5 separate regions of the Homo sapiens genome follow, and regions 1, 3, 4 and 5 are each linked to region 2. Evidence: promoter capture Hi-C in 16 types of primary human blood cells and fetal thymus (Javierre and others, 2016). All regions are on one chromosome and are shown on one strand. The core of a region is centred on a gene start or on the middle of the fragment in contact, and the rest is flanking DNA. Distances in the headings are between cores, read along the strand shown.

The links. Contacts are between HindIII fragments. The CHiCAGO score rates a contact against its expected background, and 5 or more counts as called.
Region 1: a fragment that was not itself captured here is called in contact with the fragment with the promoter of PREX1 in region 2 in 1 of 17 cell types (M0 macrophages); the score reaches 5.4 in M0 macrophages.
Region 3: a contact is called between a fragment that was not itself captured here and the fragment with the promoter of PREX1 in region 2, in 1 of 17 cell types (naive CD8 T cells). The highest score is 5.4, in naive CD8 T cells.
Region 4: a fragment that was not itself captured here is called in contact with the fragment with the promoter of PREX1 in region 2 in 1 of 17 cell types (naive CD4 T cells); the score reaches 5.6 in naive CD4 T cells.
Region 5: a fragment that was not itself captured here is called in contact with the fragment with the promoter of PREX1 in region 2 in 1 of 17 cell types (naive CD8 T cells); the score reaches 5.2 in naive CD8 T cells.

What each region holds. Positions count from the first base shown.
Region 1 is chr20:47,771,915-47,776,988 of GRCh38, forward strand. All of the region lies in intron 1 of SULF2 (sulfatase 2), which reads right to left. LOC124904922 (a long non-coding RNA gene) reads left to right here and starts at 2,176. Exons shown (of 3, transcript XR_007067620.1): 1 at 2,176-2,256; 2 at 2,526-2,682; 3 at 2,831-5,074. The HindIII fragment of the contact is 878 bases long and covers 1,741-2,618 here.
Region 2 is chr20:48,824,649-48,829,840 of GRCh38, forward strand. PREX1 (phosphatidylinositol-3,4,5-trisphosphate dependent Rac exchange factor 1) reads right to left here and starts at 3,351. Exons shown (of 40, transcript NM_020820.4): 1 at 2,994-3,351. The coding sequence starts at 3,212. RefSeq lists silencers at 2,845-2,914, 3,325-4,004. The HindIII fragment of the contact is 7,694 bases long and covers 1-5,192 here.
Region 3 is chr20:47,495,219-47,499,917 of GRCh38, forward strand. No RefSeq gene overlaps it. Among named protein-coding and RNA genes, the nearest start is that of NCOA3, 4.3 kb to the right of the region's middle. The HindIII fragment of the contact is 9,001 bases long and covers 1-4,699 here.
Region 4 is chr20:47,699,088-47,703,601 of GRCh38, forward strand. SULF2 (sulfatase 2) reads right to left here. Exons shown (of 21, transcript NM_001387048.1): 4 at 3,432-3,583. Among named protein-coding and RNA genes, the nearest start is that of SULF2, 84 kb to the right of the region's middle. RefSeq lists an enhancer at 2,627-2,686. The HindIII fragment of the contact is 3,903 bases long and covers 1,173-4,514 here.
Region 5 is chr20:47,674,724-47,679,223 of GRCh38, forward strand. SULF2 (sulfatase 2) reads right to left here. Exons shown (of 21, transcript NM_001387048.1): 8 at 3,953-4,081; 9 at 2,355-2,411; 10 at 1,771-1,900. Among named protein-coding and RNA genes, the nearest start is that of SULF2, 110 kb to the right of the region's middle. RefSeq lists enhancers at 1-701, 4,064-4,500. The HindIII fragment of the contact is 722 bases long and covers 2,294-3,015 here.

The DNA of each region.
Region 1 (5,074 bases), core at 930-3,429, 1.1 Mb before region 2:
GGCAGCTCCCCAGGAAGTTTCTGGCAAGATGGCAGCTTCCAGGGCAGGGGCTCCTGATTTGAGGCAAATGGTACAGCCTGATCTGCTCCGAAAGGGATGACAGGGCTGATCGTTAACCTCTGTGCTCCATCCCATATGCCAGCGTCTCAGAATAAATAAATGAATTTTTAAAAGTCTGGTATAAGTAGAATACCCAAATCTGGGCCTAAATTCATTCATTCATTCCCTTTCTTATTTCAATAAATTTATTTAGAAAGAAAAGTCTATCTTGGAGGAACCAGCACCCATTGCCATAAACCTGGGTCTCTCAACCTTGGCATTACTGCCGCGTGGGCAGGATCATTCTTCGATGGGGGACTGTGCTGTGTATCACAGGGTGTTCACAGGCCTCTGTCCATGAGATGCAAGTAGCACCTACCCCAGTTGTGACAATCAAAAATATCTCCAGACACTGCCAAATGTCCCCCTAGGGGGCAAAACTGCCCCTAGGTGAGAACCCCTGCCATACTTAGATGGCAACAGTATAAAGGCAATGACATTGTGGTTACATTCTTGCTTGCCAAGGCCTCTGCGCTTCCCCTTACATTGGGAGTAGGTCTCCTTGAAGACCATAAAGGAGGAGTTCACGCGATTCCCTCCTTGATGACCCAGAGGCTTGGAGGAGAGCAGAAAAGGAAAAGGGGAAAAAGGAAAAGTTAAAGGTTTTTACGTTGGAAATGGCATTTCCAATGTAGTCCAGGCCCTACCCCGTCTCTTATCCTGAATCTAGGCCACTTCACTCACTCAGGTCTCCTGCCCGACCCTCCTCCTGCCATGACCTGCTTATGATGAGATCAACGCCACTTACGCCCTGTGCGTGGACGGCTAAGATGAAGACTACACCTTGATCCAGTCAATGGGACCTGGTTGGTGGAGGCCACCGGTCTGGCACAAGACTTGGCAATGCAAGAAGTCTGGATGTTGTCTGGTGACCTTTGGAGAGAGATATGTTTGCAGTGGCCTTTGTCTAAAGCAGGGACAAATATGCAAATGCATCCAAGGGTCGGGCAGGAGACCTGAGTGAGTAAAGTGGCCTAGATTTAGGATAGAGATGGGGTGGCGCCTGGACTACACCGGAAACACCATTTCCAAAGTAAAAACTTTCAACCTATTTTAAGCACTGAGCGGGCTCCATAAAGCCCCGCTGGAGCTTGGCCTGGGAGCTATGTGCGACTCTTCCAAGCTATCCAATCTTTCCTGAGCACCTACTATGTGCCACATGCTAAGAAACAGCAGTGGCCACAAGGCAGGCCAGGCCTCTGTCCTCATGGAGCTGTGATACCTTGGTGGAGGAGAAAATGAATGAATGAAGATTGTCTTAAGAGCTTTGGAGGAAGCTGTCAGGTGATAGGATGGACAGTAAATTGGGAAAGGCCTCTCTGGCATGAGGAGGTGGCATAAGGAAATGGCATCTGAGCTGAGAGCAGAGGCGGGCGAGAAGCCAGTTGTGGGCAAAATGCTTTCTATGAACGGAGGAAGTAAGTGCAAAGGCCCTGGGGTGGGAATGTGCACAATGAAACCAACATGGTGCAGCCGAGCACGGCAGTGTGGCCCACAGGAGGCTGGACACCCCTTTGCCCCAGCCCATGCCTTCTGGGCAGGCCACACCCGCTGTCCTTTCTGGCTGTTTAGAGGAAGTAGAAATCAGATACAGAAATTCCCACCTCTGTTCTTTGTTCCTTTGTCTCAGCTGTGGACAAAAGCTTCCCTGGCAGGGAGTTACAAAGTTATTTCTGCAAAAGGCCTTTGGCCAAAAGCAATAAAGTCCGACTTGAACAGAGTCATTATTCACGCCTAACTGTGGGCTGGTTCTCAGTGTAGACTGCCACAGTGGGGACTGACAATTCCACCTTTTTAACCCCCTCCTCCTTTTCAGCCCCACATTTTCTTAGCCCTGCTTACCCCCACAGAACATGTATTTATGTTTCCAGAGATTGTCGTTTCCTTCCAGAAGAATATAAAAGGAATAAAAGGTATTTTGACGGCTTGGTATTAATAATCCAATTACTTCTTTCCTTTTCACCCAATCCACAGGCGAGCGTGCCGTCCTCAGCCAGCTTGCCCCTGCTATTAGCAGATGAGCTGTTCATTAGTTCACCTTGGAAACAGCCCGACACTTACAATTATTTTAGAAGCTGGGGGAAGGAGTCAGAATCAACTTTTACCAAATCACCTGCTACATTTGGAGATGCGAGTGGAGTGCCTTTGGAACGACAGGTCGGCTTCCCAATGTGGCTTGCTGTGCAATCTAATTAGCAGCCGGAAATAGACCGGCAAGTGGGAGGAAAGCCCGGGTCAGAGGCTCTGCGAGCTGAGATTAGTCTGGATCAGTTTTTCCTACTAGCAGCCTCCCCTGCTGCGGGGACTCACTGGGTGTCACCAGGTGTTGGGGTGGAAGGCAGTGTCACTGGTGAGGCGGGGTCTGGGAGGAGGGAGTGCAGGCATTGAGCCCAGGTCCCTCATTACCGCGCATGCTCTCCTTTCAGGAGCCAGAAGCAAACTGCCCCTATCTTCTGGAGGGGGATATTGAGGCATGGCAGGGGTTCTAGGAGTTGACTTTGCCCCGTAAAGTGGAGAGAAGCTTCCAGACCCCCAGCAGCACCTGAGCTATGGGGCCCTGGAGCTGGAGAAGCTGCCACACAGGTTTGGGCATTCTACTTATACTGGACTTTCAAAGTCCATTCACTCGTTTTAAAATGTTCATTGCTCTGCCAGGGGTGGAGTCACCTATGCAGGGGCGGTGCAGAGATTTCTAACAATTTTTGTCCATCTGGTCCCCTTCTTTTGACAGCACCCCAGCTTCCTTTTGAGGACTCCCTCCCCTCTGCCAAGATGCCCCCATCCTCTCTGCCAAGGGGTGATCATGTGACCAAGGTCAATCAGACTTTCTTACCATGTCCCCAACTGTCAAATAAAGTGTCAAGGGCAGAAAGAAAAAGCAGGGGTGCATTTGTCGCATTGGGATGGAAACTCTCCTTCAGGAGGCTGCTAGTAACTCCTGCGCCAAGGTCCCCAGAATTTCCTCAGTTCCTGACCTGTCCTTTCCTGAGCCCCCCAGTAAATCCTGTTCCAGCTTGAGGTAGTAAGTGTTGGGCTCTGCTACTTGCAGTCTGTGATGAATGGGTACTTTGGTGGACTCCAAAAAGCCACACTGCCTGGTATTCAAACCCTTGTGTGGGCCCCACCTCATGAAACCGGGCTGGCTTTGGGACCTGTTTTGACCAAGAGAAGGTGGCAGAAGTGATGCTGTGCCGGTTTTGCGGTTAAGCCTTAAGAGACCGTGGCAGCTTTCATTTTTGCACTCTTAGAAGTCAGGCTACCCTGAACCTGCCATACTGCGAGGAAGCCCAAGTAGCCATAGGGCAGAGCCCACATGGAGAATAACTGAGCTCCCATCTGGTGACCAGCAAGAGCTGCCAGCCATTTGAATGGGGTTGTTTTAGACCTGCCAGCTGATATCACATGAAGCTGAAGAACCACCTGGTCAAACCACAGAATCGTCCAAAATAAAATGTTGTTACCTTAAACCACTGAGTTTGGAGTGGTTTGTTATACAGCAGAAACACAACCCAAGAATCCTCAGTGACACTGATCAGAGCCCATTCCCCCAACAGAAATGTCACAAATGACTATGAGGTTAAGACTTTCAGCCTCTTCGGCTAATGAACACTTGGAGGAGAACATCATTCATTCATTCCTTTAGTCATTCATTCAAACAGCCAGTAAGCCTAGCACAGATGGTACAAAGATGAACAAGCTTCAGGACCTCCTGTTCTAGTGAGGGCATCACACACAGTGCCTCAGTTTCCTTACTGATAAAGTGAAGATGATATTAGTCCCTGCTTCAAAGGCTTGCTGTGATGATGAAATGCTGGGCAAAAAGTAATCAATAGATATTAGACATTATTATTACTACACACTTGCAATGCACAATGTAAGTGTCCAGGGACACTTGCAATGTCCCTGGAAGTGTAGCCATTGGGTACAAAGTGTCACAACGGGAGACAAACTCAAATGCCTACGTGGGCCAGGCAGATAATGTAAACGGGTGAAGTGGACGCATAAGAAAACTCCACACCCCACTTCCTCTCCAGCTCTCATCTGGCCACTTTTGGTAGAGATGGAACAGAGAAATATTGCTCCACAATGAGAAAAACAGAAGGGAAAGTGCAATGAAAAGCCAAATGAATTGGTTCACAATGTCAGGCTATAGGGGATGGTGGGGACCACATCTCCCCATTTTTCAGGAGAAGCTGAAAATCCAGATTTTTAAAATGTGAAATCTCGTAGTTGTTACAAATCTGACAGCTTTTTAGAAGGTTCAAACAAAACATTTCTGCGAGCTGAACAGAGCCCCTGGTTAGGTGGCCTGTGATGTCCTATTCTACCAGCATGGCAGAGCAAGGAGAGACTTCGTTGTGTCTCTTTCCTCCTTTGTAAAACGGGGTTGGAAGATCCCCACATCGCTGAGTTATTCCACATTCACAGGAGCGCGCACTTAAACCACCACTAGCCTGTACAAAGTGCTCGGTAAATGTGAGCTTTCAGGAGGGTAGGTTGGGGAGTGGAGGTTAAAGAGGCTGCTCTCCTGGGCTGTGACCGCTGTTCTTTCAGGAAGGGACAATTTAGGGAAGGGAGTTGTCTTTTCAAGGGCACATGCAGAAATATTTAACCCAAGAGCCCTCATTAGAATGTCACACCACTGACCTGGAAGACTAGCTTGGCCCCAGAGTCATCAGAAGTGGAGGGTTCCACCAGCCCTTCTGCAAGGCCGTGAGGTCCCTGCCGTGGCATAAAGGGGACGATCCTTCCTCTGCAAGCAATGCTAGCACAAAACCCCAGCTCTGGCACTGGGGAGCAAGTGAGTGTGTATGAAACCAATCCTCCCAGCCACCTGCTTAGCTTTTTGCAAATGACTAACAGGTTTTGACATCCTTGCCCTGAGCAGTCACCTTCGAGCAAACATGCTAGCCAGATGTGCCTGTAGCTCTCCAAGCCTCTTTCTTTTCTTGCTTCCTTCATTCAAAAAAAAATT
Region 2 (5,192 bases), core at 2,101-4,600:
TATTAACATCCCTCTTTTTACAAATAAGGCTCAAACAGGTTAAGGTGTTTGCCCAAGGTCACAAGTCCAAGGATTTAACCTCAAGCAGTCTGGCTCCAGAGCCTTGCACTTGGATTGTTTTTTTTAAACACCCATTTGGCCATCCTCCACTACACCGTCCTCTCCTTGAGGACAGAAGCCACACATGGCCCCTATCACGGGGGTTACTTTCCACGGTTTCCATGGGCCGATGGGACCTTCACACCAAGGACACACGGAGACCAGGGTGGTCCTTTAAGGCCTGCCTCTAACCACATGGAAATAAAAGCAGGGAGGGATTACCGTGCATTCTTCCAAGCCAGGAGACAGCAGGGAAAATCCCTTAGCAAATATAAAGGCTGAGAAGAGAGAGTGGGAAGACAGAAGAGAATCACAACCTGAGGCTGCCAGCCTTGCAACCATGGAAAGCCTTGGTAATTAGCAGTTCCTGAAGCTCTAAGCCCCAGGTTAGTTTTGAAAACGAAAATGCCTTGGGATGTTTAGGGGCCATTCCTGACGGGCCAAGATGAGAGAGGACTCCTGTGGCTCACAAACAACGTATGGCTGGTCAGGTTACACAATCCGTCTGTTTCTGGCACCAGCTTGGGGACACACAAAAGGCCCAGGCAGAAAGGAAGCCCGGATTCCCCGCTCCTTGTTTCACAGGTGGGGAAACTGAGGTCAGGACACGTAGCATGATTGGTCCAAGACACATGTCCAAGTCAGAACCAATTCATCTCAGAACTGACACATCAGATACAAAAAGAAAAATGTGATGAAGTCAGCAAATGTAAAGTGTTAAGGAGATAATGTGAAAGTAGAGAAATCTTTTTTTTTCCTGTTTCTTGAATAATAAGAATGGTTGGCTCCAATCAATTTCCATTATTCCAGCTTCCTCCTACTCTACACGTGGACGATTTAAAACCACAGTTAACTCAAACACAATCTAGATCTGTTCTAAAATGAAACACACCATCTAGGGCAGGGGCGTGGGAGGGAGAGGTATATTTTCTTTCCCATTAATATCAAAATTGGTTTGTATTTCCTGTTTCTCTTCCAAGCAGAGGAGCATGGAGTGGCTCAGAAGGAGAAGTCAGGAGTTCCCTAGAATTTGACATTGCTCAGAGACACCAGGGTTGTCTACATGTTTAATTCAAAAACTGCCAGCTTCTAACAGAACAAATTCTTCCCCCACCCCCCACCCCCGAAACTGTGAGAGAAGAAGGGATGGGAAAGAAAGCCAATCCTGCCTTATTCTTACAGGCCTTCCTAGAAGGGTCCTTTAGCCAAATGGTTTTCAATGCTTCTGCACAACCCCCTCTCCCACATCCCCCTGCCCCCAGTACATCTCCTTTCACAGGCAGAAGGGCTCTAGTCTAAGGCTGTCTCCTCCCTGAGCTGGAACTCTGATCTCACACAGCCTCAGCTGCACCCCTAAGCCATGAGGAGCCCCAGAGGACCCCAGAGTCTCCCTCTTTCTCCCAAAGACTAGGAGCTACAAAGCCTGGCTCTAGGGTCTTTGAAAGAGCCACCCCCACACCAGCCCTTCCTGAACCAGGATTAAAAGACTTCCTAGAGCAGAGAAGGGGAGTAAATGAGGCCCCAGCAGGAGGCATGGAGATTAAAGACTTTAGAGTCTCCTAACTTCCATCCAAGGCTCTGCCCCGTCCCACCCCCTCCACCCGCTGGCCACTTTTCTCACTTCCTAGGAGAGTAGGGAAGTGGCCCCTTCCTCCCTCTCACAGAAAAAAAGCAAAAGAAAAATGCAGCATAGAATAGGGGTTTAGAACACCAGCTGGGATAGTCCCGGTTCAAAGCCCAGTACCCCCACTTAATCAGCTGTGCGATCCCAGACAAGCTACCCGGCCCCTCTGGAGCTAAACTTTCCCAATCTTAAAAACGGAGGAGGCAGGACCCAGTAGCTCACGCCTGTAATCCCTGCACTTTGGAGGCCGAGGTCGGCGGATCACTTGAGGCCAGGAGTCCAAGACCAGCATGGCCAACATGGTGAAATCCCCTCTCTGATAAAAATACAAAAATTAGTCGGCCGTGGTGGCTGGCGCGTGCCTGTAATCCCAGCTACTCGGGAGGCTGAGGCAAGAGAATTGCTTGAACCCGGGAGGCGGAGGTTGCAGTGAACCGAGATTGCGCCACTGTACTCCAGCCTGGGTGACTGAGGGAGACTCCGTCTCAAAAAAAAATTTTTTTAATTAAAAATGGGGGAAATACTCGTCCCTACTTCATAGACCGCCTGTGAAGGTTAAACCTGCTAATTAATGACACATGTAAGGTGTCTGGCACATAGTAAGTGGTCGGTTGTTATTTTACAAAGTCTGAGGCCGTGGTTTTGCACTTGGAGATGGGGAGTTGGTGGGGGTGGATGCAGTTAGGGAGCCTGGACTGCCGAGTTTTGAGTTCGAAACCCACTCTCCCCGAACTCCAGCAAAAACCTGTGCATGGGGGATTCTACCCTGGGGTTCTGTCAATCCCCGCCCCTCCTCTGAGCTTCAGGTTTTATCCTACTCCATCAACGCGCAGGGACGTTGGGCTCTGGGGCTCCTACGGTATGTCCTAGATGAGTGGTGCACCGGGCGCGTAGTTATTCCTGGGAAAAAGACGCAGGAGCGCCAGCTCCCGGCGCCGCCGGGGTCCCCAAGCCCCTGCATCGCGGATGTAACTAATTTTAAAACTATTTGAAAGGCGGGGACGGGGAAGAAAAGACAAAAGGGCAGCGCGCGCCGCGGGGAAGTGGAGTGCGGGAGAGCCCCGGTCGGAGCAGGACCGTGCGCCGGCCAGGGAGGGAGGCGACGCGACAGCTCTGGAGGAGCTCGGATCCCCCCCGCTTTCCGCGCGCCCTGCGGGGCGCCCCCGAGGCAATTCTCCACCCACGGGGACCACGGCCACAGGTTGTGGGGACCGCAGCGGGGCGAGCGGCTGGAGGGAAAGCTGTCCCCAAGCTCCCGAGCGACACTCACCGACTGCAAGAAGCGCAAGGTGCCCACGTAGTCCCTCTCGGTGCCCAAGATCTCGTTGAGGACGCAGAGGCGGAGGCGCAGCTGGCGCTCGGACTCCCGGGCGGCCGCGCACGGGCCGGGGCCGGAGCTGGGCGCCGCGGCGCCAGGGGCCCGGGGGTCCGGGTGGGCGCAGTCCCCGGCCCCGTCGCCGCCGGGCTCGCTGCCGCTGGGCGCCTCCATTCTAGCGCGGCCGCGCGGCGCCGGCTCCTTCCGTCGCGCCGAGCGGCAACTCAGGCGTCCAGGCGCCCCATCCCGGACGGGGCGCGCCGGCGGGCCGGGCTCAGCGGCGGGCCGGGCTCCCGGCGCGGCGGGCGGGACTGGGGGCCGGGCGGCTGGGCCGGGGGCGGAGGCAGCGCGCGGGGGCCGGGCGAGGGGCGGGAGGGGGCGGCCCTCGGGGCTCCCAGACGGCTGGCCCCCCGCCCCCGCGCCAGGGACCGTCTGCCAAGTGCCACGCCGCGCTCGGCCGCAGAGGCGCTCTGCGCGTGCACGGGGCCCCTGGGGACGCGGCGCGGCGCTCGGCGCCTCCGTCGGAAGCTCGGGGGTCGGGCGGGAGCCTCCGGAAGGGCCCCGCGGAGCCGGGAGTCCGAGGCCGCGCGCACGCCGAACCGAGCGTACCAACTCCGCGCCCGGACGCGTGGCGCCCCCCCAACCCGCAGTCACCGCGGGCTACGCCACTCCCACCCGGCACACGCGACACCCGCCGCGCGCAGGCTCCTGCTTGCAGGTCCGGCCGCTGCTCGGGCCAAGTAAACACCGGGCTGGGAAAGCTCGCTGCGGAGCCGCTCGGGGGCAAGCCAGCCCCGCCACGCGCGCCTCCGCGGCCCCGGGAAGTCAGGGGCGACCGCTGCCTGGGCAGTGACGGCCCCTCTCTGGGCAGTGACGGCCCCTCCCGGGAACGCCGGGCCCTCGCGGTGCCCTCGGTGCTACCACGACCTTGGGAAGGAACATGCGTGGCGCGCGCTCGCTCTCACTTTTCTCTTTCCCGTTTCCTTTCCCATCTCTCTCTTTCCTTCCTTCCTTTTCTTTCTGAACTTCTTTGCCCCCTGACCCTGCCCTTTCCACCTTTCCCAGAAGAAATTATTACCTGCTCTTGAGTTATTGATCAAGTGGCAGGTACCCTGCCTGCTCCCCCTTCCATCCACCCACCCCATGGGATAAGGCCTTGGGAAACCCAGCTTCTTGTCAGGTTGCTCTGGGCAATGTTGATCATCACCCGCCTTATCGGAAGGTATGGAGAGGGGAGGAAGTTCTGGGGCCTAGAGTCAGCTGCTCAGGTTCAAATCCTAGCTCCCCACTTGCTGGCCGGGTGGCCTTGGGCTGGTTTCCTTGCTTCAAGATCCTCAGTGTTTTCATCAGTATAACGGGAACGATCATGGTACCTAGCTCCAAGGTCCTCCCCGGGGTTCCATGGGAAGTACTTAGCACCTAGAAAGTTCTCTGTAAATGTTTGTTCTTACTATTATTGCATGTGTGAAGCCCAACACCTAGAAAGTTCTCTGTAAATGTTTGTTCTTACTATTATTGCATGTGTGAACGGCCCTCTAAGCCTGGCCCCACTCTCAAATGGCCCATACAATCCCTAATCACCCGTGTTTCCGGACCAGAGATTGTATCGTCTCTGCAGGGGATAAAGTGATCCACATAGTATCCGCCTCTAGACTGTAGTCATTTTATGGACAGAAACATTGCTTATTTATTCCTGTTCCAAAAGCCTAGGATTTTCCTCCCATTGGCCTCTCAATACTGTAAGTGCCTAAGGACACAGGGAGAGAATGGGGTGGCTTCTGCCCTCTCTGACTTCTTTCTTTGGGATCATGGGCAAGGTAGCATTTGATCTGGGCCTTGGGCTGAGTGAAGTTCCCCTGGGCAGGGAGTAAAGGACATGAGATAGGTGAGCCTGTCACGCTTGGGTAGTGGAGTCAATTGTGTCCAAAGGTAGCTGGTTTTTTATTTATATTTTTATTCCTAATAAAGGCCTCTGGAGTATCTCTGCTTTGTGACTTTAAACTGTTCACGGTACCTTTCTGAGCCTCCGTTTCCTCATCTTTAAATTAATTCTGTCTACCACGAGGGGAGAACATGGCTGGAACATAATGGACCATGGAATGAAGCGGGCTTGCATTTGTATCCCAGTCCAAATCCAACTGGCAGGGTAACCTT
Region 3 (4,699 bases), core at 249-2,748, 1.3 Mb before region 2:
CCTGTAATCCCAACTACTCGGGAGGCTGAGGCAGGAGAATCGCTTAAATCTGGGGGGCAGAGGTTGCAGTGAGCAGAGATCGCGCCACTGCACCCCAGCCTAGATGACAGTGTGAGACTTCACCTGAAAACAAACAAACAAAAAAACCCCAAACAAACCTGTGTACCCTAAACCTAAACGTACTAATTGATCACATTTTGCCATATTTGCTCATCTGTACTCTCTCTCCCTGTGTGTGTGCATTTTTTCTCCCTAAATCATTTGAGAGCAAGTTGCAAGCAGGCTAGTTACCATTGTTACCGGTCTGGAGTTCCTTTCATATAAAACATGTGACCCAAGCTAGATCAATTGAACAGATTACTCTTCGGAATTTGAATCTTGGAATAGGGTAATGAGAGGACAGGATAAAATGAGTGGTCTTTTCTAGATCTACTGCTGGTCTCAGATAAGATGTTCAAGTATGGCCAGGCGCAGTGGCTTACACCTGTAATCCCAGCACTTTGGGAGGCCAAGGCAGGTGGATCACCTGAGGTCAGGAGTTCAAGACCAGCCTGGCCAAAGTGGTAAAATCCTGTCTCTATTAACAAAAATTAGCCAGGTGTGGTGGCACATGCCTGTAATCCCAGCTACTTGGGAGGTGAGGCAGGAGAATTGCTTGAACCTGGGAGGCGGAGGTTGCTGTGAGCCATGATTGTGCAATTGCACTCCAGCCTGGACCACAAGAACAAAACTCCATCTCCAAAAAAAAAAAAAAAGGAAAAAGAAAAAGATGTTCAAGTATCTTCAAGTATCTTCTCTTCCCTTGCTTTCTTTTTCTTTATTTAAATCTTTTTTTCTTTTTTTATTTATTCACTTTTACTTTTCTTCTTTTCTTCCCTTTGTTTCTGACATTTCCGACCTGGCCCTCCAGACTTCCCATTGATTCTTTGAGTTCCTGGATATCATTTTGCTACATTTCAAAGTCTATTGCTGTTGCTTGCAACCCAAGAATCCTAACTGGCACAGCTGCCCTTGAGGAAGTTCACAGGGCAGCATGTAAGTAGAGGCTTCATGCACTCAGAAATATTTGTAGGCAGGATCTCTTCATTTTTGGAGGGCTTGTTCTAGTTGACCTTCTAATCGTATCCTCAGAGAATTTGTGCCTTTGGGTCCCCTAGGTCAAGCCAATTTTATTGAGGAATAATTTCAGAATTTGAAATTATTCTTCCTACCTATTAAAAGTTCTCAGCCACAGTTCAACAAAACTTCACACTTACATAGTATTTCAATAATCCATTGCTGCATAGTAAATCACTGTAAAGATTAGTGGCTGAAAGAACAACATCTTTATTATCTCCCATGATTCTCTTGGTTGATTAGGTTTGGTGGGATGGTTCTTCTGTTCCAGTTCTTTTTTTTAAAAAATTATTTAATTATGATTTAGTTTTTTTTCTTTTTTTTTTTTTTTTGAGACTGAGTCTCGCTCTGTTGCCCAGGCTGGAATGCAATGGCGCGATCTTGGCTCACTGCAAGCTCTGCCTCCTGGGTTCAAGCGATTCTCCTGCCTCAGCCTCCCGAGTAGCTGGGATTACAGGTGTGTGCTACCATACCCAGCTAATTTTGTATTTTTAGTAGAGACAGGGTTTCACCATGTTGGTCAGGCTGGTCGCGAACTCCTGACCTCAAATGATCCACCTGCCTTGGCCTCCCAAAGTGCTGGGATTACAGGCATGAGCCACTGCGCCTGGCCATTTATTTTTATTTTTAAAAACTACCTATTTTCCTTTTTTATAACTTTTTTTTCACAATGTTCTGGTCAACACTATAGTCACCTGGGGCCTCTAAGGACTGAAATGTATGAGAAGGCTCATTTGCATGGCTGACAGTTACTGCAGGCTCTTGCCTGGAATCTCAGCTGGGGCTGCCAAGTGGAGTGCTTCAGTTTTTACTTCATGTAGCCTCTCCATGTGGCTTAGGCTTCCCATAATCTGGCAGCTGGGTTCCATGAGGAAGAAAGTGTAAGCTGCCAATCATCTTTATTTTATTTTATTTTATTTTATTTTATTTTATTGAGACAGAATCTCACTCTGTCGCCTGGGCTGGAGTGCAGTGGCACAATCTTGGCTCACTGCAACCTCCGCCTCCCAGGTTCAAGCGATTCTCCTTCCTCAGCCTCCAGAGTAGCTGGGTTTACAGGCATGTGCCACGGCGCCTGGCTAATTTTTGTACTTTTAGTAGAGACGCGGTTTCACCATGTTGGCCAGGCTGGTCTCGAACTCCTGACCTCAGGTGATCCACCTGCCTCAGCCTCCCAAAGTGCTGGGATTACAGGCATGAGCCACCCCAATCATCTTAAAGCCTAGACTTGAAAGTCCCATGACATCACTTCCACTATTTCCATTGGTCAAACAGTTACAGAGTCAACTCCAGTTCAAGGAAGAGGAAATAAAGCCTACCTTTCGATGTAGGAGTGGCCTGTGCAAACAGCAGGAAAGAATGATAGTGGGCACCTACACAGACTATCTTGTAGAGTGTGTCACTCATTTGGCTTAGATTTTGAGTCTAGAGCAGTGTTTCCACATGTCACTCACTACAAGATCACCTACAGGTTCCATCAAACTCTGCCAATGTTTGCCAGGCGCAGTGGCACACGCCTGTAAATCCCAGCATGTTGAGAGGCCAAGGAGGTTGGATTACTTGAGGTCAGGAATACAAGACCAGCTTGGCCAACATGGTAACACCCCATCTCTACTAAAAATACAAAAATTAGCCAAGTGTGGTGGCACGTGCCTGTAATCCCAGCTACTCGGGAGGCTGAGGCAGAGGAAGCCCTTGAACTCAGGAGGCGGAGATTGCAGTGAGCTGAGATCACACCACTACACCCCAGCCGGGGCAACAGAGCAAGGCTCTGTCTCAAAAAAATTCAGCTGAGCCAGAAGTTTGAGGTTACAGTGAGCCATGATTGTGCCACTGCATTTCAACATGGAGAAACCCCGTCCCTACTAAAAATGCAAAAAATTAGCTGGGCATGGTGGCATGTGCCTGTAATCCCAGCTACTCAGGAGGCTGAGGCAGGAGAATCACTTGAACCCGGGAGTCGGAGGTTGTGGTGAGCCGAGATCACGCCATTGCACTCCAGTCTGGGCAACAAGAGTGAAACTCCATCTAAAAAAAAAAAATTTCTAAAAAAATTCAGATGGTGTATGGTATGAATCATTGTGAAGACAAAGCAGGGTGATATGACTGTGTTTGTGCCTGTGTGTGTGTTTAGTGCTTTAGAAGTTCTATCCGAGAAGGAGACATTGCAGCAGAGACTTGAATGGCAATAGAGAGCAAGCCAGGAGGAAAGAAAATTCTAGGCAAAAGGAACAACAGGTGCACAGGTCCTGAGGCAGGAATATGCTTGGTGTGTTCAGGAATGTTAGTGTGACATGGGGTGAGATATAGGGAGAGATATATCACCTGAGATCAGGGAGGGGAGCAGAGACCAAATCAATTAGGGTCAGAGTAGTTTGTTTTCTTAAATGGAGTCAGGGTCTCCCTCTGTCACCCAGGTTGGAGTGCACTGGCACAATTACGGCTCACTGCAGCCTCGAACTTCCGGGCTCAAGCAATCCTCTCACCTCAGCTTTCTGAGTAGCTAGGACTAGAAGCGTGGGCCACCACACCCAACTAGGGTCTGAGTTTTATCCCAAATGCAATGGGATGCCATTCGAAGCTGTTTAGGTTGGAAGTTTTTTGTTTTGTTTTGTTTTGTTTTGTTTTTGAGATGGAGTTACGCTCTTGTTGCCCTGGCTGGAGTGCAGTGGCATGATCTTGGCTTACTGCAACCTCTGCCTCCTGGGTTCAAGAGATTCTCCTGCTTCAGCCTCCCAAGTTGCTAGGACTACAGGTGTGTGCCACCATGCCCAGCTAATTTTGTATTTTTAGTAGAGACAGGGTTTCACTATATTGGTCAGGCTGGCCTCAAAACCCTGACCTCAAGTGATCTGCCTGCTTTGCCCTCCCAAAGTGCTGGAATTACAGGCGTGAGCCACCGTACCCGGCCTAGGTTGGAAGTAACATGATTTAATACATGATTTTTCAAGGATCCCTCTGGCTACTGTATTGGGAGTGCCCTGTAGAGGATGAAAGGGAGAGAAGCAAGGAGAGTAGCTAGGAGACAGGTGCAGTTGCTGAGGTGAAAGGCCATACACGTGTGAGCATTTCATCTCTGGGTTCTCAGCATCTAACGCAGTATTTTATTTTATTATTTTTATTTTATATATATATATATTTGAAATGGAGTCTCACTCTGTCGCCCAGGCTGGAGTGCAGTGGTGCAAGCATGGCTCACTGCAGCCTTGACCTCCCCTACTCAGGCAATCCTCCCACCTCAGCCTCCTGAGTACTTGGGAATACAAGCAGGCGCCACCACACCAAGCTAATTTTAAAATTTTTTGTAGAGACTGGGTATCTGCTTTGTTGCCAAGGCTGGTCTTGAACTCCTGGGCTCAAGCAATCTCTCGGCCTTCCAAAGTGTTGGGATTACAGGCCTGAGCCACTGTGCCCTGGTGGAAATATATATATATATATTTTTTTGAGACAGAGTTTCGCTCTTGTGGCCCAGGCTGGAGTGCAGTGGCGCGATCTCGGCTCACTGCAACCTCTGCCTCCCGGGTTCAAGTGATTCTCCTGCCTCAGCCTCCCGAGTAGCCAGGATTATAGGCGCCTGCCACCA
Region 4 (4,514 bases), core at 1,874-4,373, 1.1 Mb before region 2:
TGGCTCATACTGGGGATGACAAAATAGACGGGTGTGATGTGACTGTGTGTGTGTGCATTAATGATGTGTGCACATCACTTAACAGTTTATATCATATCTTCATGTGCCAGACTGTGAGCTCCAGGAGGACCATGATTGGGTCATCTGTTTTCATTCACCTTGGAATAGCCAGCACTTGGCATGGTACCTGGTACACAGCAGGCTCTCAATGAATACTTGTTGGGGGTGGTGAATGAATAATGGAACCAAATGTGACTAGTCCACTCCCCTCATATGATTGTTGTGAATATCAGAAGTACTACATGTTATCAGAAGTACTACTGTGTACCCCTGAGCACTACATAGTAGGTGCTCAGGGGTACACAGTAGGTGCTCAGTAAATGGAAGTACACATGATTAAGTATGCAAGGGTATGCTTGTTTTTCAGATTTGGGAGTTGAGGCTCTTAGGAGTACGTAGCATGTCCAAGGTCACGTAATATGTGTCAAGGTTGGGGCTCTCAACTTGATCCCACTGACTCCAAATGTGAAACTCACCGTACAGTCCCCGGAGGGTGCTGGCAGAAGAACGACATGGTGGGCTGAAGGGCTGCAGGCCCATGGGTCAGGCATGCTCAATTGATGCAAGATTTTAGAAAAGTCTGAATTAGTTGCCAATATTTACCAATCAGGAGATTTCATAGGTAAAAAATACAAATTTGTGGCTTCTGTTGAAAAATCAGGAAAAGTGGCCATCTGGGCCCACAGTTCTACCTGGGCCTGATCTGCCCCTTTTGGACAGACACCTTCTCCACCGTCTCCACCACTCCCTATTGTCCACACACTCCTGGCTTGCTACCCTCTTTCAGTGACTGCCTGTTCTCTAGTGACTTTAACCTGGGAAGTCACAGTAGGCAGGGCCCAGGACTGGTGGCAGTGGGGATGGGAAAAGAGAAAGAGGGATGGATTTGGCAGCTGGTCTGGGGAAAGAATGTACCAGCTGTGGGGGGATGTCAGAGCTGACTCTGAGGATTCAGATGGGGCAGGAAGATTTGTTCATTTCCATATTTCTTTTAAAATGGGACATCTGGATGAAACATCACTGTCAGCCTCTCCTCCTTCTCCTCCTCATCATCTAAGCCAGGGGTCAGCAAACTACAGCCAAGCAGGTCGACTGCCTGTTTTTGTAAACAAAGCTTCCTTAGAGCATGGCCATGCTTGTTTGTATATTATCTATGGCTGCTTTCACACTATAACGGCAGACTTCTGCAGTGGTAACAGGACTGTAAGCCTTGTAAAGCCTAAAATATTTAGTATCTGGCCCTTTACAGAAAATATTTGTTGCCCTGATCTAAGCTACTACATACTGAGTATTTACTACGTGCAAGGGGCGCTTCTAATGTTCTACATGTACTAACTCACGTGATCCTCAAAAACCTTTGTGGTAAAACCATAATGAAACACCGCTACATGCCCAACAAAGCAGCCCTGACAAAAAAGACAACACCAAGTGCTGATAAGGGATGCAGGGCAACTCCCATTTCCGGCTGGAGTGTAAACTGGTGCAACATCTTTTTTTTTTTTTTTTTTTCTTTTTTGAGATGGAGTCTCGCTCTGTCTCCCAGGCTGGAGAGCAGTGATGTGATCTCGGCTCACTGCAACCTCTGCCTCCCGGGTTCACACCATTCTCCTGCCTCAGCCTCCCGAGTAACTGGGATTACAGGCGCCCGCCACCACGCAGGGCTAATTTTTGTATTCTTAGTGGAGACGGGGTTTCACCATGTTGGCCAGGCTGGCCTCGAACTCCTGACCTAAAGTGATCCACCCGCCTCAGTCTCCCAAAGTACTGGGATTACAGGTGTGAGCCACTGCGCCTGGCCGGGCGCAACATCTTAACACATCCTATGTCCCAGCAATCCTTCTTTGGGTGTATAACCAAAAGAAATGGGTGCATATGTCCACTAAAAGCCATGGACAAAGATGTTCACGGCAGCTTAGTTTATAATAGACCCAAACTGGAGACAACCAAAATGTCCATGAGTTGTTGAATGAATAAATAATACAGATCTCACAGACATTGCGCTGGGTGAAAAAAGGCAGATGCAGAAGAGAACAGACTATACGATTCCATTTAGGTGAAGTTCTAGAATAGGCAAAAATAATCCACGCTGTCAGAAGTCAGAGTAGACGTCATCCCCAGGGTGGGGGGTCATGACTGGAGAGGGGTCTCAGGGAGTCTTCTGGAAGTGCTCTATGTCTTGATCGGAGCCGCGGTGAAATGGATGCACGCATATGTGGAAGAGATGCGCGGTGAAACAGATGCACACGTATGTGAAAATTCATCCAGCGGTCCACTTAAGATCTGTGCATGTTACCTCATGTCAATTCATCTTATGTTAAAAACAGAAAAAACTACGACTGAGGATCAACCACTGCTGCAGGTGCTCAGGCAGCACCCACTCACTCCGAACATGCACACGCCCTGTGCTCAGCAACGCTGCTGTGAGGAACGGGTATAACAGAAATGAGCCTCTATGCTCACCAGGAGCTAGGTTCTAGACAGTGCTCAGCAGCGCTATTTGTAATAACCCCAAACTGGAAATACCTAAATGCCCAATAAAAGTAGAAGAAATAAACAAATTGTGGTATAAGCGCATGATGGAATGCTGGGCAGCAAGAATGAACTCAACATAATACTAAGCAGGAGAAGCCAGATGCAGAGTGAATCTGTAACGCTAAGAGTCTGAATCATCGTTATCCTCGCGGGAGGGGTGTCGAGTCGGGGGAATTCCGTGAGGGGACTGCTGCGGGCGGTGGTGACATTCTCTTCTTGGCCTACCCGGGTGCTCATTACACATGTCCGTTCAGTGTGCGGCAAGCCTTTGAATGGTACACTCTGTGTATGTACTTTCTGTAAGAATATTCTGTCTCGGCAAAATGTTAAAAAACCAAACTCTTGGAAACAGACACTATTTTTTGAGAAATGAATACATTTTTCTTTTCTTTTTTAAAGACAGAGTCTTGCTCCGTCACCTAGGCCGAAGAGCAGTGGGAAGATCCTGGCTCACTGCAGCCTCAAACTCCCGGGCTTAAGCAATCCTCCCATTTCAGCCTCTCTAGTAGCTGGGTCCACAGGCATGTGCCACCACACCCGGCTAAGTTTTGTATTTTTTTCGTACAGACAGGGTCTCGTCATGTTGCCCAGGCTGGTCTTGAACTCCTGGACTCAAGTGATTCACCTGCCTTAGCCTCCCAAAGTGCTGGGATTACAGGCGTGAGCCACTGTCCCTGGCTGAGAGATGAAAAACTGAGGAGGAGGTGTATGTAAAATGCTCAAGGTCACACTTTTAAGTGCCTGAGTCACAATCTGAACCCAAGTAGTCTGGCTCCTGAGTTGGGCCTCTAACTGCTGGGCCACACAGCCACTCCCAGGCTGGAAAGGTTGCAGCTTACCTTGGAGTAGTCGGAGCCGTGCTTCTCTTTCACCCCGTTCCGACACAGCGTGTAGTTATAAAAGCGGGAGTTTTTAAGGAGTCCGACCCACTCCTTCCAGCCGGGTGGCACGTAGGAGCCGTTGTATTCATTAAGATACTTCCCGAAGAAAGCTGCGGAGGGAGATGGATCAGGAGGCCACGTGAGAAAGTGCCTGACGATGTTTATTAAACTATTGTGTGTCCGAGGCCTGAGCATGCACACCTGCTCTGCCATGGAGCCCTCTGGCACACAGAGCAATGGATCCCTTCTCCAATGTTATTACGTGCATTGAATACAAGATATAGGATTACAGAGAAAATCAATTGTTTGGAAATACGGTTATCAAAATACTAAACACATTTGCGATACAGTGTGTCTTTTATTTTTTATTTTTGAGATGGAGTCTTGCTCTGTTACCCAGGCTGGAGTGCAATGGTACGATCTTGGCTCATTGCAACCTCTGCCTCCCAGGTTTCAAGCAATTCTCCTGCCTCAGCCTCCCGAGTAATCCTCAGCTGGGATTACAGGCGTCTGCCACCATGCCTGGCTAATTTTTTGTATTTTTAGTAGAGACAGGGTTTCACCATGTTGGCCGGGCTGGTCTTGAACTCCTGACCAAAGTGTTGGGATTACAGGCGTGAGCCACCATACCTGGCCTACTGTGTCTTTTAAAACCTTGTAGAGAGCGATCATTTCAGAATAGTTATGAGTGAAAATATTATATTTTGCAGTATCTGCAAAAACTGCAATGGGATATTAAATACTGGTGATTTCTACAGATGACAAAGCTACAGATTCTGCCAACATACTGTGGTTTATGGCTTATGCTCATATTGGAAGCAAATGCTAAGTCTCAGCTGTAGGTTAGTGAAAACCAGAGTGTCACTTTTTTTCCCATTGAAGTTTGTGGATCCCTTGGATTCTGTCTGCTATACAGCAACCAGAATGGCTAACATTAAAGAAATGGGCAACACCTAGTATGGGTGGGGATGTGGGACAACTTGAGCCCTCACACACTGAGTGGCTGCCCCAACCGGTCCAACCACGGTGGGGAACTCTTTG
Region 5 (4,500 bases), core at 1,405-3,904, 1.2 Mb before region 2:
GACAATGCTATGGCTGGGTGTGAGGCCCCTAAGAGACGTCCTCGGGCCACAGGGTACAGCTTCTACACTGGGCAGGGCATTCCAGAAGGCACGGCACAAGCAGGGACATGGCAACGGCACTCGGGGAGTACCGGCTTGTGAGCAGGGCCGTTGCCTGGGATGGGGGGCAGACGTCTGAGCCTGAGGTCCCCAAAGCTCCGGGGCTGGGTCGGGGGCCGTGGGTTGCTGCCTCCCAGCTGGCCTAGGCTAAGTGCCCCAAACTCCGCCCTCAGCACTCTCTTCCTTTGGCTTCAGTGGTGTGCTCTGATTGTTTGGAAAATGCTGATACCTCCTCTTTCTTGGCCCCAGCAAAGAGGTCATTCTGGCTGCCCAAGCCCTGATCTGGGTCAGGGGAGACATCAGAAAGAACCAGTGGGGGACTTGACAACGTTCCCTCGTCGAGGGGCAAAGACTTCCTGGCCTCCTCATTTCACTCCTTTTAGCCCAGAACTAAAATCAGAACCACTTCTGGGATCTCGGTACAAAGTCAAGGCTGAACTCTCTCCAGAACATCAGCTCTGGGAGGGCAGGAGCTTCTGTTGAGCATGTTCGAGGCTGTGGCCCTGCGCCTAGGACAGTGCCTGGCAAGCGGGGGGACGCATTCATGCTGTACAACGGAGGGATGAAATCCACAGCTCCTGCCCGGTGGCAGATACGGGTTAATTGTGTGACTAAGAGGGGTCTGTGGGTTTACAAACACACACTGGGTGGGGAGGCACAGTCAGGCCTGTATGGGCCTGTACTAATTCTGTGTGCAGTGTTAAGATGGAGTCATTCAAATGCAGTCCATCAGAAACGCATCCACTTCAGGCCTTGGCCTTCAATACCAGGGCCCTGGTTTTGCTTTTTCTCATAGGTGAAACAGGCACACAGCTCCAGCCCCAGCTCAAAGTCCCAGCCTTTGACAGGCAGGGCAGGGACACACCTCCGGCACCCCTTGGGCCAGCCAAGGCAGAGTTTCCATCCCACTCCCCTCCCTGCCCTGCCCCGCCCCCGACCCTCCTCTCCAAGCCTGCCCTGGCTTTCCAGCCTCAGAAAAGCCTCCTTCAGGCTTTCCCAAACATGTCAGTTTCTGGCTATCTCTGATACTTCCCAGATAATTTTCTTTTTTCTTATGTTTTTAGAGACAGGGTCTTATTCTGTCACCCAAGCTGGAGTGCAGTGGCGCAATCATAGCTCACTGCAGCCTCCAACACGTGGGCTCAAGCCATCCTCCCGCCTCAGCTCTGGAGTAGCTGGGACCTCAGGCATGAGCCACGGACTGTTCCTGGCCATAATTTCCTTAATATTTCTCTTGCAATCAATTCACTTTTTAAAACCTTACCTATATTTATTTTAAAAAGCCATGTCTTATTACTCCTATAAAAGGAAAACCAGTCACAAAGAGGATACTGTCAAAGTGAATATGGTGAAAATAAAATAATTTAACTCCTGCTGGGGCCTTCGTGCAAGAGAGATCGGCAAGGGCTAGAGAGGCGCTAAGGGCATACACACACCCACGGGACACTTGGCCTCTGACACGGTCAGGGTCCAAAGGCTGCTGAGAAATGAATCACTTATTGTGAGCATCATCCTGCACCACCAAACAGCATCTTGGGCACCACACGGCAGCAAAGGACTACCCGTTGGGAGGCCCTGGCCCTGCTGGCTCAGCGGCTCTCAGAGCCTCGCAGGTCAGGGCCGGCTGCAGTCAGGAGGGGGAGCCGTTGGGAGGGAAGGGAGCCTTCTTACCTGTCCCAGCTGCTCACACGCCGTCTGGTACTCAGCACGCTGACACAGGTCCTTCACACGCTGGTACTTGGGCAGAAAGTTCTCCTCCTGGGCGTCCACCTTGTCATTGTCTCTCTTGTGTAGCAGCTTGCTATGGGGCAGAGAGCAGGAGCCGCGGGGCCGGCCTCTCAGCTCTGGAGGAGCCCCGGAGGCATGTGTGCCCACCTAGAGGGGTGCCCCCTCGGCTCCGGCTTTTCCTCACAGTGGAGGGCGCAGGGCCACCTGCCCGGGTCTTCTGATGTTTAGGAAACTTAAGACATTGGAATTTTATAAGAAACTTCCCAAATTGCATGAGTTGGCAATAAATTAAATAAATTGAAGACATTGTAGAGGCTGGACAAAGCATGCCAAAAGCGTACACGTGACCTCAGACCCCAATTCTGTGTCTATAGGAGCAGTGAATGGGCTTTGTGTTTAGGGGCCTTTGGACCAACTTCAGAGCCATGGGCAGCTCCTGAATAGCATGATGCGGTGGGGCTACAGAAGCTTCCTGGGCAGAGGGAGGGAGGTGGGCAGGGGTGTCCCTCCCAGGACCCGGCACTCACCCTCTCTCCACCAAGAAGGAGTCCCGCCAGACCCTCATCTTCTTTTTCAAGTGAAACCTGGAAAAAAGCACGGCTCCTGCTTCTCAGCAACATGAGGGCTTCCCACGACCCCCCGTTCCCCCAGGAGCAGGGACGGCACCAGGAGTCAGCCTTGGTTTACGGTCAGCCTGGACAGCAATTGTGGTGAGTGTGCCCAGCTGGGCACTAGAGCATTGCCCACCCTCCTCTGAGTTGAGCCACCCCTTCCCCAGAGACTTGGGTCTGGAGACACACACAGTAGAAATGACCCAGGTCAAAATCACTGTAAGTCCCACCCAAGTAACTGTGTGTGTGTGTGTGTGTGTGTGTGTGTGCGCGCACACACATCTCAAGCCCCTCCCAGGAAGCCCAGCAACTCCCCCGGCACTAGACGAGCTCTATCTCGAGTTCAGCGTCAGGCGCAGTGGTTCAGCATCAGGCGCAGTGGTTTGGCGTCTTGAGCTCTGTCTTGAGCTCAGTGTCAGGCGCAGTGGTTGCCTTGATGTCAGGTTAATTGCATTGGGTTTTGGGAGTATTTTCTTCTTTGGTGCTTTGCAGTTGCATGTATGTAATTTGTATGTTTCATCCAGTGCCACCTGGTCATTTCCATTTCCTAGATGGGGACTCTGAAGCTGAGAGGGGAAGCTTCCACCCTGTCCCCTGACCCCCAGGTGTCCTGGCTCCCAGGCCAGTGTCCCCAAACATGTCCATTTTATACCATTACAGCTTGCCTGGCCTCACAGTCAGGGGAGGAGCCTCAATGGACACGGTCCCCCTACAGGGCAGCCAGATGTGGGCACACAGTGCTCGCCTGGCTGGAGCCTCTGGGAGGCCACAGGGGAAGGGCTCCGCTGCCAGAGGTGCAAGCCAGGAGTTGAAGTAGCACCTGGAGGCCAGGAACCTGGTGGCTGTTAAGAGCGCTGGCCACCAGATGTCGCTGCGGCCACACCAGCCTCCCCGCCCTGACTCAGCCCACCTCCCACCTGTCTGACTTGCTCACCCTCACGGTTCCTATTCTGCCTCTCTGGACACCTAGGAATATGTTCCCATCACACCCTCCAGCATTAAAGTTATGGGGCGTGGTGAGTCAGCATCTGAATTCCCAGAGCTACATCCAGACTTGCTGGGATACCTCCGACACGTCACTCAATCGCTTTGGGATTCAGATTCCAAACTGGTAAAATGGGGATGATGATAATGTCCACCTCGCTGGGTTACTGTGAGGATCAAATTCCTAGATTTCCCTGCACAGTACTTAGAATAGGGCCTCACACACAAGCGCCGTGCAGTTAGCACCATCTCCTACCATCACTGCTGCTATCATTTCAAGCTTTGGGTAATTTTAGCTCAGAGAAGGTCCCCAACTGGTCACCTTGGCCACATTCCAGATGGGAAGACAGAATCTCGGAGAGGGGACCATGCTTCTCTCCCACAGCAGGTAAGTGGTTGGCATGGCGGGACCTGAGAACCCCAGCTCCCGACCCTTGGAGACCCCACGTTCTAGACCCACAGGGTTTTGCTCTGAGTTCCCGCAGGTCAATGTCCCGGCCCCCTCAACACCTGCCCTGCTCCGTCCTCACCGATTCACCGGCCGCTCCGTGTCCAGCAGCTTGAGGATGGATTTCCCGTCCATATCCGCAGGTATGTCCAGGCCTGCAATGTCCAGGATGGTGGGGGCCAGGTCAATGTTGAGGACGATGTGGGGATTCCTGGGGGAGGCAGGAGATCGGGGACTCAGTCACTCAGGTGGTGGTGCCTCAGCCTCGCGTGGGGGGTGGGGAGCGGTAGGTGGGCAGCAGTTTGTGGGAGGCTGACATCTGCAGGTATGGAAGCTGCAGTCTGGCACCTCAACCTCAGCAGCTCCCCTCTGCGGCCCAGATTCAGCTGAACCCCCACTCTGTGCTCGCCCCCCCTTAGTTTCTGTGTCTCAGCTCATGCCGTGAGCTGACAGCCTCACCCTGTCCCCCTCCTGCCCTTCCTGTCCCCACTTCCTGAGTGAAGGCGACCCCCCCTTTACAGCCAGCCCAAATCCTGGCCCTTCCTGAACCCTTCCCCTGAACCTCTGGGGCAGACACTGGCTCCTCGCTGTTCCTTGACAGCCCAGGCACAGTGCAGCCTCAGGGCCTTC